Regions from separate parts of the Homo sapiens genome. Here regions 2, 3, 4 and 5 are each linked to region 1. The links are contacts of gene promoters, found by promoter capture Hi-C in blood cells and fetal thymus (Javierre and others, 2016). All regions are on one chromosome and are shown on one strand. The core of a region is centred on a gene start or on the middle of the fragment in contact, and the rest is flanking DNA. Distances in the headings are between cores, read along the strand shown.

Evidence for each region. Contacts are between HindIII fragments. The CHiCAGO score rates a contact against its expected background, and 5 or more counts as called.
Region 2: a contact is called between a fragment that was not itself captured here and the fragment with the promoter of SLAMF1 in region 1, in 3 of 17 cell types (fetal thymus, activated CD4 T cells and non-activated CD4 T cells). The highest score is 7.4, in fetal thymus.
Region 3: a contact is called between a fragment that was not itself captured here and the fragment with the promoter of SLAMF1 in region 1, in 3 of 17 cell types (non-activated CD4 T cells, fetal thymus and activated CD4 T cells). The highest score is 8.9, in non-activated CD4 T cells.
Region 4: a contact is called between a fragment that was not itself captured here and the fragment with the promoter of SLAMF1 in region 1, in 4 of 17 cell types (naive CD8 T cells, non-activated CD4 T cells, activated CD4 T cells and 1 more). The highest score is 8.2, in naive CD8 T cells.
Region 5: a fragment that was not itself captured here is called in contact with the fragment with the promoter of SLAMF1 in region 1 in 6 of 17 cell types (fetal thymus, non-activated CD4 T cells, naive CD8 T cells and 3 more); the score reaches 11.0 in fetal thymus.

Annotation. Positions count from the first base shown.
Region 1 is chr1:160,645,659-160,648,359 of GRCh38, forward strand. SLAMF1 (signaling lymphocytic activation molecule family member 1) reads right to left here and starts at 1,386. Exons shown (of 7, transcript NM_003037.5): 1 at 1,212-1,386. The coding sequence starts at 1,287. LOC107985220 (a long non-coding RNA gene) reads left to right here and starts at 1,351. Exons shown (of 2, transcript XR_001738266.2): 1 at 1,351-1,677; 2 at 1,815-2,701. RefSeq lists enhancers at 1,218-1,427, 1,468-1,517. The HindIII fragment of the contact is 11,196 bases long and covers 1,358-2,701 here.
Region 2 is chr1:160,576,537-160,579,236 of GRCh38, forward strand. All of the region lies in intron 1 of CD84 (CD84 molecule), which reads right to left. Among named protein-coding and RNA genes, the nearest start is that of CD84, 1.6 kb to the right of the region's middle. The HindIII fragment of the contact is 2,380 bases long and covers 141-2,520 here.
Region 3 is chr1:160,520,655-160,523,354 of GRCh38, forward strand. SLAMF6 (SLAM family member 6) reads right to left here and starts at 2,601. Exons shown (of 8, transcript NM_001184714.2): 1 at 2,490-2,601. The coding sequence starts at 2,538. RefSeq lists an enhancer at 2,386-2,435. The HindIII fragment of the contact is 1,709 bases long and covers 521-2,229 here.
Region 4 is chr1:160,554,559-160,557,258 of GRCh38, forward strand. The region is part of intron 2 of CD84 (CD84 molecule); the gene reads right to left. All of the region lies in intron 1 of CD84-AS1 (CD84 antisense RNA 1), which reads left to right. Among named protein-coding and RNA genes, the nearest start is that of CD84-AS1, 19 kb to the left of the region's middle. The HindIII fragment of the contact is 6,836 bases long and covers 1-2,700 here.
Region 5 is chr1:160,538,545-160,541,244 of GRCh38, forward strand. It overlaps CD84 (CD84 molecule), which reads right to left. Exons shown (of 7, transcript NM_003874.4): 7 at 2,554-2,700. The region is part of intron 1 of CD84-AS1 (CD84 antisense RNA 1); the gene reads left to right. Among named protein-coding and RNA genes, the nearest start is that of CD84-AS1, 2.8 kb to the left of the region's middle. RefSeq lists enhancers at 1,550-1,639, 1,655-1,949. The HindIII fragment of the contact is 1,582 bases long and covers 584-2,165 here.

The sequences.
Region 1 (2,701 bases), core at 136-2,635:
CCTGTGACCACTTAAAGTGGCTCGATTTGGTTTTCTGAGCCCCGAGCTCAGTTCTTCCTCCCCTAGACCTTGGGAAGTACGAGCCATGGATCTGCAGATTCCAAAAGAAAGTGGGCTGAGCAAGCCCTGTTCGTCTGGCTGTCTGGTAAAAGACACATCCATTGTGCAGCACCCCCACATCCCTGGCATATCACGGTGCTTTTCCTGGAAAAGTCCATATTGGATTTGCGGTCTTGAAAACCCCAAGCTTAAAACACCCTGGGCCTCAGGATTTCCCCCCGTGTCCGTAATGCCACCTCTTCTACTCCAGGCTACCTCCCACAGTCTAAACAAATAAGCAGAAGGAGATTCTCACCCCACTCACACAGGCAGTCCAAAGTCCACTTCTTGCTTGGCTTTTTCTTTCTCAAATACCTTTTCTCATAGCCCTGATACTTCTAAACAGAAAGCAATAGCCTGCCTTGGGAAGAAGATAGACAGAAAGACAGGAACAGAGTCCAGATCCAAAGGTAGCTCTTGTCTGGCCTTCCTGCTGGAGCTACTCTCTGAGGGTTCCCAATTTGCATTTCCCACATACTGTAACCAGCCCTAGCCTTCAGAAATCCCAACTTCTTCCCTCTTGCTTTCTTGGACCTTCTCTTCCAAGAAAATACACACCAGTATGACCGCACTGTGGCCACTGCTGGTTCTCAGCCAAAAGCCTGGAGTTTTCACTTCTACTCTCTCTTCCCACTCTAGCCAATGCTTTCTGTTGACCCATGCTCCTGGTTTGTCAGCCTGCATGTGCACAGATTCCCTCCCAGGGCAGGGATGTAGGGCAAATCTTCTCCCAGAGCTCAGTCCATCCAGCTCAGTCTCTCTAGGCTGGGTCTTTGCCAGAAGATGCCCATGTAAAACCAACCACTCAAGCAAGACTTCTACCAGGGCCTGTCACCCTAAGACTGGTCAGAAAAGTGACTGGAGCCTTTGGCTTAGAGCCCCTCATTTCCTTGGAAACTGGGGTTGGTGGGGCTGAGTCTTGGAAACCCAAGGGCCCAGGAACTTATAATGTTCCTTCCTCTTTGAAAGAGGCAGTTGAAACTGACAGCCAGTCCCTAAGGAAGAGTGACCAAACACAATACCCAGCCCTGCACCTTCTCTCCATCCACGAAGATACGCTGATTCCTGGCAGCTAACATGGGACTCAAACCATCAGGCAGATGAACACTCACCTGTTCCGTAGCTTGCCCCAAAAGCCAGGGAGAGAAACAGCACGAAGGTCAAGGAGAGGAGCCCCTTGGGATCCATCAGCCAATGAGGAGAAGGAAGGGATCCTGGCCGGAGCCTGGCAGCTGCTCACAGATGCCAGGCAGAAGCAAGCTTCGTGTCATGCAGCAGAGGCTGTCTGATTTATGTATCAGGAACCAGCAGGTTCCTGAACCCGCTTCCTGTATCACTGGGACTTTTTCTGCTTGTGTCTTGAGGATTGCTCATCTCCCATGAGGCTTTAAATCACTTTTTTGTTCTCAAGAAGCAGGCTTCTCAAGAAGCCAGGCACTTAGCCTATGGGAGCCAGGAAAGGGGGTGTGTAGTCACCTCGGCCAAAACCCGGCTTTGGGCAGAAACATGCGCCCCAGCTTCTTTCCTTAGCTGTCTCCAGGAACCGGATGTTGCAGATTCTCTGAGCAGTTCTCTCCGGTAAGTCTTCTTGGATTGCAAAGAAAAGATGTTTCATTGGATCACTCCTCAAATTTGGCAGTTCACAGCTGAACTTAGATAACTGCATTTTGATGAGCTAATAGACCTCTTACTTCTGTTTTATTTCATAATTTCAGATGACACCTCAACATGCAGTCTGGTGCAGGTGCCACTGTCACACAGAGATGGGAAGGGCATGTGCGGGTCACTTGGAAGAAACCCTGTGACCCCGATGAGTGCAATGTGGTATAATTTAGTAGCCCATGCTCCTAGTTTGTCTTCTTGCATGTGTGTGGATTCCCTCCCAGGCAGGGATGTAGGACAAATCTATCCCAGAGCTCCATCCTTCCAGCTCAGTCTCCTTGTTGTGTGTGTGTTTTCTCCTCTAATTTTTAACGTCTGTGGGTACATAGTAGATATACATATATGTGTGTGTGTGTGTGTGTGTGTGTGTGTGTGTGTGTGTGTGTGTATGTATATATATATGTATGGGGTATGCATATATTTGTATGGGGTATATGAGATATGTTGATAGAGGCATGCAATATGTAATAATCACACAGGGTAAATGGGATATCCATCACCTCAAATATTTATCCTTTGTGTTACAAACAGTGCAATTATATTTTTATTTTTAAATGTGCAATTAAATTATTATTGACTATAGTCACACTGTTGTATTATCAAATACTAGTTCTTATTCATTCTTTCTATTTTTTTGTACCCATTAACCATCCCCACTTCTTCCCCAACCCCCACTACCCTTCAGCCTCTGGTAACCATCCTTCTACTCTCTATGCCCACAAGTTCAATTGTTTTAATTTTTACCTCTCACAAGCAAGTGAGAACGTGCAAAGTTTGTCTGTCTGTGCCTGGCTTATTTCACGTAACATAATGATCTTCAATTCCATCCATGTCATTGTGAATGACAGGATCTAATTCTTTTTTAGCTGAATAGTACTTCATTGTGTATATGTACCACATTTTCTTTATCCACTCATCGGTGATAGACGCTTAGGTCGCT
Region 2 (2,700 bases), core at 81-2,580, 69 kb before region 1:
TGTCTTGACAGAAATAAATAAATCATCACTCTTTACTGACATATTCCCAAACATTAATAGTAGGGAGAGTAATTTACTCCACTTCAGCATCAATGTGGGTGGAGGCAGCATGACTCAGAGGTGAAGTCTAAGGACTCTGAAGCTTAAATTCTACTTCTTTCACTTTTTGGTTAAGTGGCCTTTGACTCTCTGTGTATCAATGCTTTCATCTGTATATGTGCACATAAACCGTATCTATCTCATAGTGTATTGTAAGGATTAAACAAAATAATAACTGTAGACTACTTAGAGTAATGCTGAATATGCAGTGATTGCTCCATAAATGGTTACTTATTACTATTATTGATGGGAGATAAGACAGGGAGTTGAAGAAATAGAAATACGAATGGGGCAGAGAAAAGGAAGAATTAAGAGTATGAGACAGTATATGTAGAGGGGGTGGGCAAGGATTAAAACTGGTGGACTCCTTCATCTCCTACCCTCAGAGTGGGAGTGTCTCCCAGGGTATGTGGAGAGACAGTCAGAGTCATGGTGTTTCCAAAGTCATGATCAGAAAGTTGGCATCAGAGCATAAGACTGTGAATTTTGACTCAGAGAAAACTTTTCCAACATGGAACAGTCATAAGTTTGCACACTCAGACTTTCCTTATGTCGGTGATTTCTGAGGGGAAATGGGGATTTCTCCCTGCATCTCTCCACTGCTTCTCAGCCTCTTCAACTGCTCTGAATTCCAGGGAAATGTGTAAAGTGTAGACTCCTAAGCCCAATACTGAATGTAAGGGACTACCTCTACCAGGAACAGCAGCAGGAGGAATTCATGGTATATTTTTGTGCTCAGAAAAGGTTTGCAGAATAATCCTTAAGAGGCAAACAGATAATTCAGTAAAGGTGGACAGTATGTAAAAAGTACTCCTGGCTTCACTTTTATAAAAACAAGCTCCCATTCCCCTTTCATGGATCCTTGATGAAATGAATATCTCACTCCTAGTTTCCTTTTCCAGAACCCAGACAACCAACACCTAAGCTCAAACTCCCACCACCTTTTCTCCTGTTTATGTTCCTTGGACAATTCCCTGACAGAGGAGTCCTGCCCAGGATCTCTGTGTGGTAAAGCCATGGCTCTTCCTAATAATGAATGAAAAGCGAGTGTGAAAAATAGTAGCATTAGCTGATATCTGTTAAACACTTACTATATTCAGGTACCATGGCAAGTGTTGTACATGCATTATCATCATTTTGATTCTCAAAACAATTCTACTGTATTAATACCTCCCCATTTTGAAGCTGAAACAAGAGTCAGAGGAGGAATGTAACTTCGTCTAGGTCACAAAACTTGTAAACAATTCACTACTAGCTGATTTGACAACTTTATTTCAGTTTCAGTAGATGAAAGAAGTGTATCCTAGAGCTACCTTTTATCTTAGCAGGTATTAACCTTTTGAAGAGCATCAAAAATTTGAAAGCAATGAGTGAAGAGGTCAGGTGGAGCAGAAAGAAGAACCAATGGGATTGGGATTAACCTTGGAATTAGAAAAACCAATGTCTATTTCCAGCTCTACCAATTTAGGTAGTGAAATTTCAGGTGAATTTTTAAACCCCTAAATCTTAATTTATTATTTTTCTTGCATAATGGGATTAATAACGTCTATCTTGCTCATCTCAATGGTTTTCATATGGATGACATAAGAATGTAGGCATAAACATTGTAGAATGTTTTGCAAATTAAGTGGTATCAAATGCTACCTTGTCTGGTCTCTCTCTGGAAGATTAGGGACATCCCTAGTACCATTCCTCATCTACTTGCATTTTCTGTCTGCCATTCTAGAGCGACCAGCAGAGGCTCCAAAAATTTGGTCTGACTAGTGGTTACAATCTCCATGAAGTTCAAATTAAAGGAGCCATAGCTTGAAATGGCCAAAGAAACCAGAGAGATCACAGTGCATTGATTCTACCTTTACAGAAAATCCAAACGTACTAGGTTCCCAGGGTTCTAACTCATGCCAGAATTCTGCTAGTGCATTTTCAGAACTGGCAAGAGATACTAGAAGTAGATCTAGAAGTTCCAAACATAGTAAATTTCTGTTAGAGCAATTGTTTGTATTTAAGGAGATAACATGTACAATGACACAGCACTCCCAGATCTATGTTAATGTTACAATTTTCTTTGTACAAATAACAATCAATATTCATGTCGTTCTTTTAGTTTACTGTTATGCCATAAGTAAGAAAAATAGGGTTTTTAATTCAAGTTCTCCAACTCTTTTTTGAGACTATTTGTAAAAAATGGGATAGTAATCTCTTCCTCATTTATTTTAGAGTTTGTTGAGGATAAAAGCAGAGTAATAGCTCTGTGTTTTGAAAATAAAGGGAGTTTATAGAGATGAGGCTCAACAATGATAACGATGAGTCATCCATCACTCTAACCTGATAGAACAATCAACTATAATTAGGAAAGACATTTTTCTCTCTCAAACGCCATCACAATTGAATGCCAAGAAGAAATTGCTTGTAAGTCATTCAAGCTTTTAGAAGATCTTTCTTTTGCCAGGCTTTTTGGGTGGGTTTACCAAGTGCTGATTCCTCTGAGAAGGATTTGCCTCAGACCTTTGGAAACTGAGATCTCCAGATCTCAGAAATATAACTCAGTAATATAAACTTTAAAGCTGAACCTAAACACTTAGGTTTGAATTTTAAGTCTCT
Region 3 (2,700 bases), core at 125-2,624, 130 kb before region 1:
GCCACCCAGGGCTTGAGTTAAAGGAAATGGGATTATTTTTCAATATGGTTTGTCTTTTCCACTAAATTTTCTAAAAGGAGTCAGGATAGTGCCCAACCCACTTCAAAGAATGTAGGCTGGCATGAGTCATTGTTTTTCATGGTTGTTTCAAAGATTAATTTCATTTGCCCCACATTTTTGCAACAGTGGTCTTCTTTCCCTTCCTAAATCACTCCAGGCTCTTTCCTGCATCACGGCTTTTCACACATGATTCCCTCTGCCCTAAAATCTTCTTCATTTGACTTTTCCTGTTTAACTTTTCACACCCTTTAAATATCAGATGAGATGTTACTTTTCCAGGAAGTCCTTTCTTCATCACTCCGTCCAAAGCAGGTCCCCGTGTTTTTCTCTATGAAGGTGCCCTGCTTATTTTTTTTGCTGGCCTCACATTTTCTAATTATGTACACATTTGTGTGAATGTATGACTGTGTGTAAGCTAAGTAGCATAGTGAAGTGGCTATGAGCACAGACTCCGGAGCCAAGCTTCCTGATTTCCAATTCTAGCAGCCACTTCTCTCCTCCTGGGTCTCAGAACACCTGCATCTGCCTCCTGTAAACTCATTCAAATGTGTTTCTCTTTCTATACCCATTTCCCCCATAAATGTGGGGCAGTGAGCAAGTTACTTTAGTGTTCTGTGCCTTCTTTCCCCATCTGTGAAGTGGAGATTGGAGCACTGTATATTTCATAGGGTCATTATAAGAAGTATTCATGGAAATAGGGAGAAGAAGAGGAGTTTTAACACAAGGACATTCAGAATATTTTATTCTAGAGGTGGAAATAATTTTGCAGGGTGGTAAAAATGAAGCAAAAACTCAAGATTCTGCTCCTAGATCAGGAAGTGGCTCTTGAATGAAGGAAAGAATTCTCTCTCTTTCTGCATTTTATATATATTTCCCAAAGTTCTGTTCTCATTCCAGTTTTCTCCTCAGCTTAACATATCTCTATGCCATTGATTTTTAAGTCTCTAGCCTCAGCTCTACCCCTAGTCCTAAGTTCCCAGGATCCTCCACGTAACTTCCTCATGTATAGCACACTGACATCCTAAAATCAGTAGGTCCAAAATTGAACTCACCTTCCTCCTGTGGCTGCTCTCCACCTTCCAATTTTGTCACTTTCTTTGGCTATCCTGTCTGAAATTTCACTGCCGTCTTTACCATATTTCATCTCTCCCTTTCCTTCTTGATTTATTTCTTCCTACCCAATACACTATTTTACTTGTTTATCTTTTTTTACAGTTTGTCTCCTGCTAAAATGTTAACTCCATGAGGGCAGGAATTTTTGCTTGCTTTGTTCATGATGTATTCATGCAAACTAGAAGAGTGCCAAGCATTCAGTAGGTGCTCAATGAATATTTATTCCTTTCTCATTCCAATTACCAATTACTCTACTTAACTCCATATTGATGGGATCTCTTGCTTCAGTCTCTTCTTTCTCTTATGCTGCTGCCACACTTGTTGAACTGTTATTTTTTCTCATAACTATTACAAGAGCTTGTCGCATGCTGGCTAATGAAATTTGGGCAAATTATTTAAATTAAGTTCACCTCAGTTCTTCATTTTAAAATGGAGATATTAATAGTATAAATTCATAGAATTCTCATGAGACTCATAACGTGTGTACAGCACCTGGCACAATACTTGAAATACAATAAGTGCTCAGTGAATGCTTCCTACTTTTATCTGCTACCCTGGGCTAGCTCTGGACTAGATTTCCATTGGTCTCCTGGACTATCTCTGCCTGAATGCTACACTTTGTCTCCCGTGGACCACTTGTAGTTCCCCAAATGTGATATGAATCTTCATCTTCTCCATATAATGGACAGCAGGAAACAAGAAGCCAGCTGGATCAGTTCATTCTTTTCTCACTGCCATATATAATGCATTGCTGGACTAGCTAGCCCTAATTTGCACTAAAGGAGGGGAGAGATGGAAACCTTTTTTTTTGCAATGAGCAAAAGGTGAGAGGGTTATTTTTGGTGTGTTTGGTTGGGCCCAGAAAATTTGGCTCAACTGAATAATAGGTTTTTAATAATTTAGATGAGGATAGTGAGGTTCAGGAAGGATAAGTAACCTCCCTGAGGTTCACAGTACGATAGTAGATACATTGGTATGAGGGCCCATTTTCTTGGTCTTGGTACTCTTTATAACACAAGATGCTGGTCATAAACCACAAACAGTCTTGTCTTCAAAAGCTTATTTCCTCTGCCCCAGCAAATAACTTTCTTACATGCAGACACAATTGAAATTGTTCACCGACAACCATCTCAGGCTTATCGCATCCAAAGTTGAGAGGAGGTAGTAGTATATCAGGTAACACTGCCAGCGTCCCCTTTCCCGCCCCAATCCCTTGGCAGAGAGCCAGACAACTGTATACAGACGATTTAGGTTGAGCAAGCTGCACAAAACCAGGGAGTCACTCAGTGACTACACCGATCTGGATTGACATTTACCTGGGCCAAAGCAGAAGACAAACAGGAGCGATTGGAACAGCCACAACATGCTTTCCGCGGTGAAGACTGGTGCTTGAGACCTTGAGGCAGTCAATGTTTTTGCCCTTCTGTCATAAACTGAAAATACTTCTGAGACTTCCCCTTCCTCTTAGAGGCGTGGTGACAACTTCTTCCCCTGCACTAAAAATCCTAATTTGTAACTGTGTTAATT
Region 4 (2,700 bases), core at 156-2,655, 91 kb before region 1:
ACTTAAAATTGTATAATATCTGTAGCCATTACATTGTGAATAGCACAAAAAATAGGAAGTATTCTTCTGGTATTTGGAAACCATTATCCAATTCAGCAAAGAAGTCGCTCGTGTCATTGATAAACAAATGAAGCTCCAATATATATGTCTTTGTTGAATCACTTTTTTCTTATTATTTAACTGAAATGAAAATATCAACCGATGTTTGTGTTGGAACTATACTCATACATCAATTACAACTATAAGCTGATTAGGGATATAAATGCTTAGCAAAAATCAATGAAAGCATTCTGTAAGAATAATTGGAATTTATCCTCTAGTGCCCTCTCAGCAAAATAAATTCTATATAGAATTTACAATAAAGACTATTATATATTTATTATCATTAATGAAACTGTGTGCTACACATCCTTCAAGTCAATAAAATTTGTACTAAACATAAATTTTATATATATATATGAATACACACACCCAATTAAGAGCTAATTAAATATTTATCAGCACACAACTACATGAAATAATCTTTTTTTTTTTTTTTTTGAGACGGAGTCTTGCTCTGTCACCCAGGCTGGAGTGCAGTGGCATGATCTCGGCTCACTGCAAGCTCCGCCTCCTGGGTTCAAGCCATTCTCCTGCCTCAGCCTCCCGAGGAGTAGCTGGGACTACAGGTGCCCACCACCACGCCTAATTTTGTTTTTGTATTTTTAGTAGAGATGGAGTTTCACCGTGTTAGCTAGGATGGTCTCAATCTCCTGACCTCGTGATCCACCCGCCTCGGCCTCCCAAAGTGCTGGGATGACAGGTGTGAGCCACCGCACCCAGCCAAAATAATCTTTAAAATTTTTTTTCATTCTGTTTTCTGGTGTATGTATATTTTCTTTATTTTTTAAAAACTATCCATGGTGGAAAGCTATAATTTCTTTAAAAGTTCATTAAAATGTTTTTACTTAAGCAATCAAAAAGTAAACTATAAAAGTTGAAGGCTAGTAAAGGGTTACTAAAGAACAATAATAATTCAAGTGATAGCTAGGACTGGAGCTGGCATGGGGAAGCGTTAAGGTCTTTTCTTTTACCAGGAATAAGAAAATGACCACATTTGGAGTTAATAAGTTCAGCGCCCTCTCAGCAAAGTTGCTGTGGTGGGGTTTGTTTCTTCCACTGTAGCTATGTGAGGAAGGGAATAGAGGAGTCAGAAGGAACTGGTGCACAACTAGAAAGGCAATAAATTCAGAAGTGTAGACACAAGATATAAGAACCATTATCTTGCGTTTGTGAAGGAACTCAACATGAACAGTAAGAAGCTGTAAAAATGTTTGATTCCAAGCTAGCCAGAAATTCTGGTCCTAACAATCTTTTAGAGGGATCTATTCCATATTAGAATTAGTGAAGACTTGGAATAAACCCAAAACAAGTTTGGGGTACAGACCTGGATTAACTATAATAGTGACTGATACGATATCAATTAGTAGAAAGTGAACAAAATTTTGTGTGTGTGCGTGTGTGTTTCTTTAGAAATTTGATTTACAAAAATGCCTAGGGAGTGCTTGGTGTTTACCAATTGTTGGGGGTAGGTGTTGAGGTAGGGGACAGTGGTAAAGAAGAGGATCCCATCTCACTTTTCTCAGCAGGAACAGAGGTGTTGCCTGCACAAAGATGCTGGGAAGAGAAAGTCAGAGTCATGGCCGACAGATCTTCATCCTCCCAAGCCAAGATTGTGGAAGCCACTGGAGACCTGGTTCAGAATCCAGGCTCTACTGCTCTCTAGCTATGGAATAATGGAGAAGGTATACAGATTCATGGAGCTTCAGCTCCCTTATTTATAACATGAGGGTAAAAATTTTTCCCTAAATACAATTGTTGTGAGGATTAAATGAGATTTTGAAGATAAAGATTATTCTAATTACCTATTTACTTATCTATCATCTATCTGTCTGTCTATGCTGGTATGCACATTAATTATCTATGGAAGACACAGAAGAAGCTGGCTACAGCCACTGCCTCTGAGAAGAGAGAGTTACATCTCATTGTATTATCTTTTGCTCTTTTTGTGCATACAGTGCTTAAATATGTATAGTCTATATATTTTTAAAATAGATATTAGAATGCCAAACACATAAATGATGTTCAATAAATGTTAGTTTCCTTCTCTTTATTTTCCCAGCTAACTACCCATAAGGTACAGATTTTATTGTATATACAGTACAGCTTTCTCTAAGATATTACTGTACTGTGTCCTAATTGCACGTGGTAGAAGACTTTCTGAAGATTGGGTAGGCAAAATTAAACATATAAAGGGTTAAAAATCAATATCTTAAAATTGAATACCATCTTTATTTTCTCAGCTAAAGTTCTCGAATGAGTTAAATATTTTCTAAAGGGTTGACATTTGGGTATGGCTCTTTGACTACATTATTCAAGCCTAGTTCAGAGCCTTCTTCATCTAGGAAGTCCTTCATAATGAGATTTTTTTTAAGGGATAAGGATTAAAAAATTAATGATTACTAGTTATTGAGCATTTACTTTAAGGCAGGCACTATACTAGGGAGCTCAACTACCATTATCTCATTTAATACCATCAATTACGATCTACATTCTATAAGTGAGGAAACTTTGGAACAGAGAGGTTAAACAACTTGCCCAAGATCATACAGCTGGCAAAGTATGCCTAATCCCAACATTAGCGTTCTTTCCGCTATGCTG
Region 5 (2,700 bases), core at 125-2,624, 110 kb before region 1:
CTTTTTTTTTTTTTTGTTTTTGTACTTTTAGTAGAGACGGGGTTTCACCATGTTGACCAGGCTGGTCTTGAACTCCTGGCCTCAAGTAATCCACCCACCTCAGCCTCCCAATACAGGCGTGAGCCACTGTGCCAGGGCTTAATTATAAATTTTCAACTTATAAGTTATTACATATACAAAGCCTTATACCACAGCAATCCATTGGTCCTTTCTGCCACCAGATGACATTAGCATGGCCAATATAACCATTATTTGTGTTTTGGAAAGATCACTCTGGTTGTGGTGTAGAGAATGGATTGGACTGGGAGCAGGCACGACTGCAAGAGGTCAAGTGCTATTGTCTGGGTAAGAGATGATGGCAACCTGGACTACTGTAGTTAGTGGTGAAAGAGAGGTAGATAGATTGTAGTGACATTCAGGAGTTGTGTTGGGGTTTTCAAGACCACCCCCAGATTCAGTCATTCAGTAGGAGGACTCACAAGACTCAGCATATAGCCATAGTCATGGCCGATTTATTACAGTGAATAAACACAAAGAAAATCAGCAAAGGCAAAAGGGCAAAGTCCAGAGGAAACCAGGTGCAAGCTTCTAGAGTCCTCTCATAGTGGAGTCAAACAGGATGTATGTAATTCCTTCAACAACATGTTGTGTCATGTTTGAAATGTAATCTACCAAAGAAGCTCGATGGAGCCTAGGCATTTAGGGTTTTTCTCTGCAGGCAGTAACGTAGGCACCCTCTACCTAGCATGCACCAAAATTCCAGAATCCAAGAAAGAAAGCAGATATTCAGCAAAAAACAAATTGTTGTGCCAACAATTTAGGTACAGTGTAAGTACCTTATCAGGGAATTCTTATCAGGGAATGGTAGGAACCGTCCCAAAGTCCAAGTTCTCAGACACCAGCCAAGGGCCAACCTTATAAGCATGCCCTTCAAAGGACAGCAGTTTTAGCCCTGCTGTGTTAACTCTTCTGTGTCTCCTGCATAGCAGGTAAAATCAATATTTTCTAGTGCATTTCCAACCAAGGGTTTTATAGAATCTATGAAGGTAATATACTTCAGAAATAAACAGTATACCTGGCTTTGTCGTTGATACATATGCCAAAGGATTGTAACATGCCAGCTAACACAGTTAAAGGCTGATAAGCTATTGCGTCTTCAATAATTAAAGTATTACAAATTGAGGACTACTTGCACTGGGTCAGGCACTGTGGATACAAATGGTGACAAAACCACGCATGATCTGTGTCCTGATGGAACTCACAGTCCAGTGACGGAAGAGAGGAATTAATAAAATAATCACAGGGAGAAATATTTAAAGACAAAATTGAAAACTGCTGTAAAGGCAAGAGGTGTTGTACTATGAGCGCAAAACACGGGCATCAGATATGGCCTGGAGGAACAGGGAAAACTTCCCCCCAGGAAGGGACGCTTGAGCTTATCCCAGAAGAATGAATGGGCATTGTGTGAATGAGTGAAGCTGTGTATTGGAGGTAGTGAGGGTAAGGAGGTGGAGGTAATTTCAAGCTGAAAGTCCTATGGCTAATGTGTAGATGAAATGAAATGAAATGTGCCAAACCTCAGAAAGCACTGGAGAAACACTAGCGAAATTTATCTTCTCAAACGGTTGCTGTATCTGCCTACAGAGTTTCTACACAGGGACTCCGAAATTCTACATGGGTAGCAGTCAATTTCAACCCCACAAGAAGATGTAGGTGGGGAGCTGGAAGACCAGGCTTATCTGCAAACGCTGGCTCAGAACAGAGCAGCTGTGGCCTCTGATAAGCAGGGAATAGAGGAAGTGGTTTTGTCTCAGGCCTAAAAACCATTTGCTATCTCACAGCGCCTGTTAGTAAGTCACCTCCCCTTCAGTGTTTACCAAACATTCAGAGGCCCTGCACCTACAGTTCTGTGGAAACCACAACCTCATTCTCCTCAGTTAAAAGCCCAGTCTTTTTATCCCTTTCCTCCAAGTGGCACTATGGGTGACACAGAGAATTTCTACTCTCCAATTTGGGACTCGGACTCTGAATGTGGTTTCCAGGACTCTCTTTCCTCTTCTGATATGTGGGTGCCAATCCAAATTCAGTTCAACAAATACTTACTAAGCTCTGCTAGGCATTGGCTCCTGTGATAGGGCACTGTGAGTGAAAAATGAATAAGACAAAGCTTCTTCCCTGGAGGGAGATGACCCCCAAAACGTGATTTAAGTCCTCAATTTCCTCTCTCTAGGTTGACCAAGGCAGAACTCTCTTCTCCACCTTAACCAAGCACCTCTGCTGCCCTCCGGGTTTTTTCTGTTTCTGGCATTTGTCCTTCCTGTCTCTAGCTTCTCAGTCTCCTCTCAAGGTCCCAATCATCTCTCTACATCAGCTTTTCTTTTTTTCTTTGTCTGTCTTATACCCTCAATCCCTTGGTCTCTTGTGTCCACTCAGGGCCTGGGTTTTCAGACAGCACAGGGCTTTTATCATGTGGACTGTCTCCTTTGCTGTTTCATCTGTTTACTTCATTTTTGTTGCTCTCAAAAACCAAAACAAAGTAAAACACAAAATAGATGCATTATAAAATAATATTTATTGTGTCCTGCTGAAATGGAGCTTGTAGTCTCATTTCTTAGGCACTTACAAGGTAAAATTTATGAACCATACTTTATTAATGGGCATTTACAAATGCCTGAAATAAAAGGTGACTTGTAGAAGGGA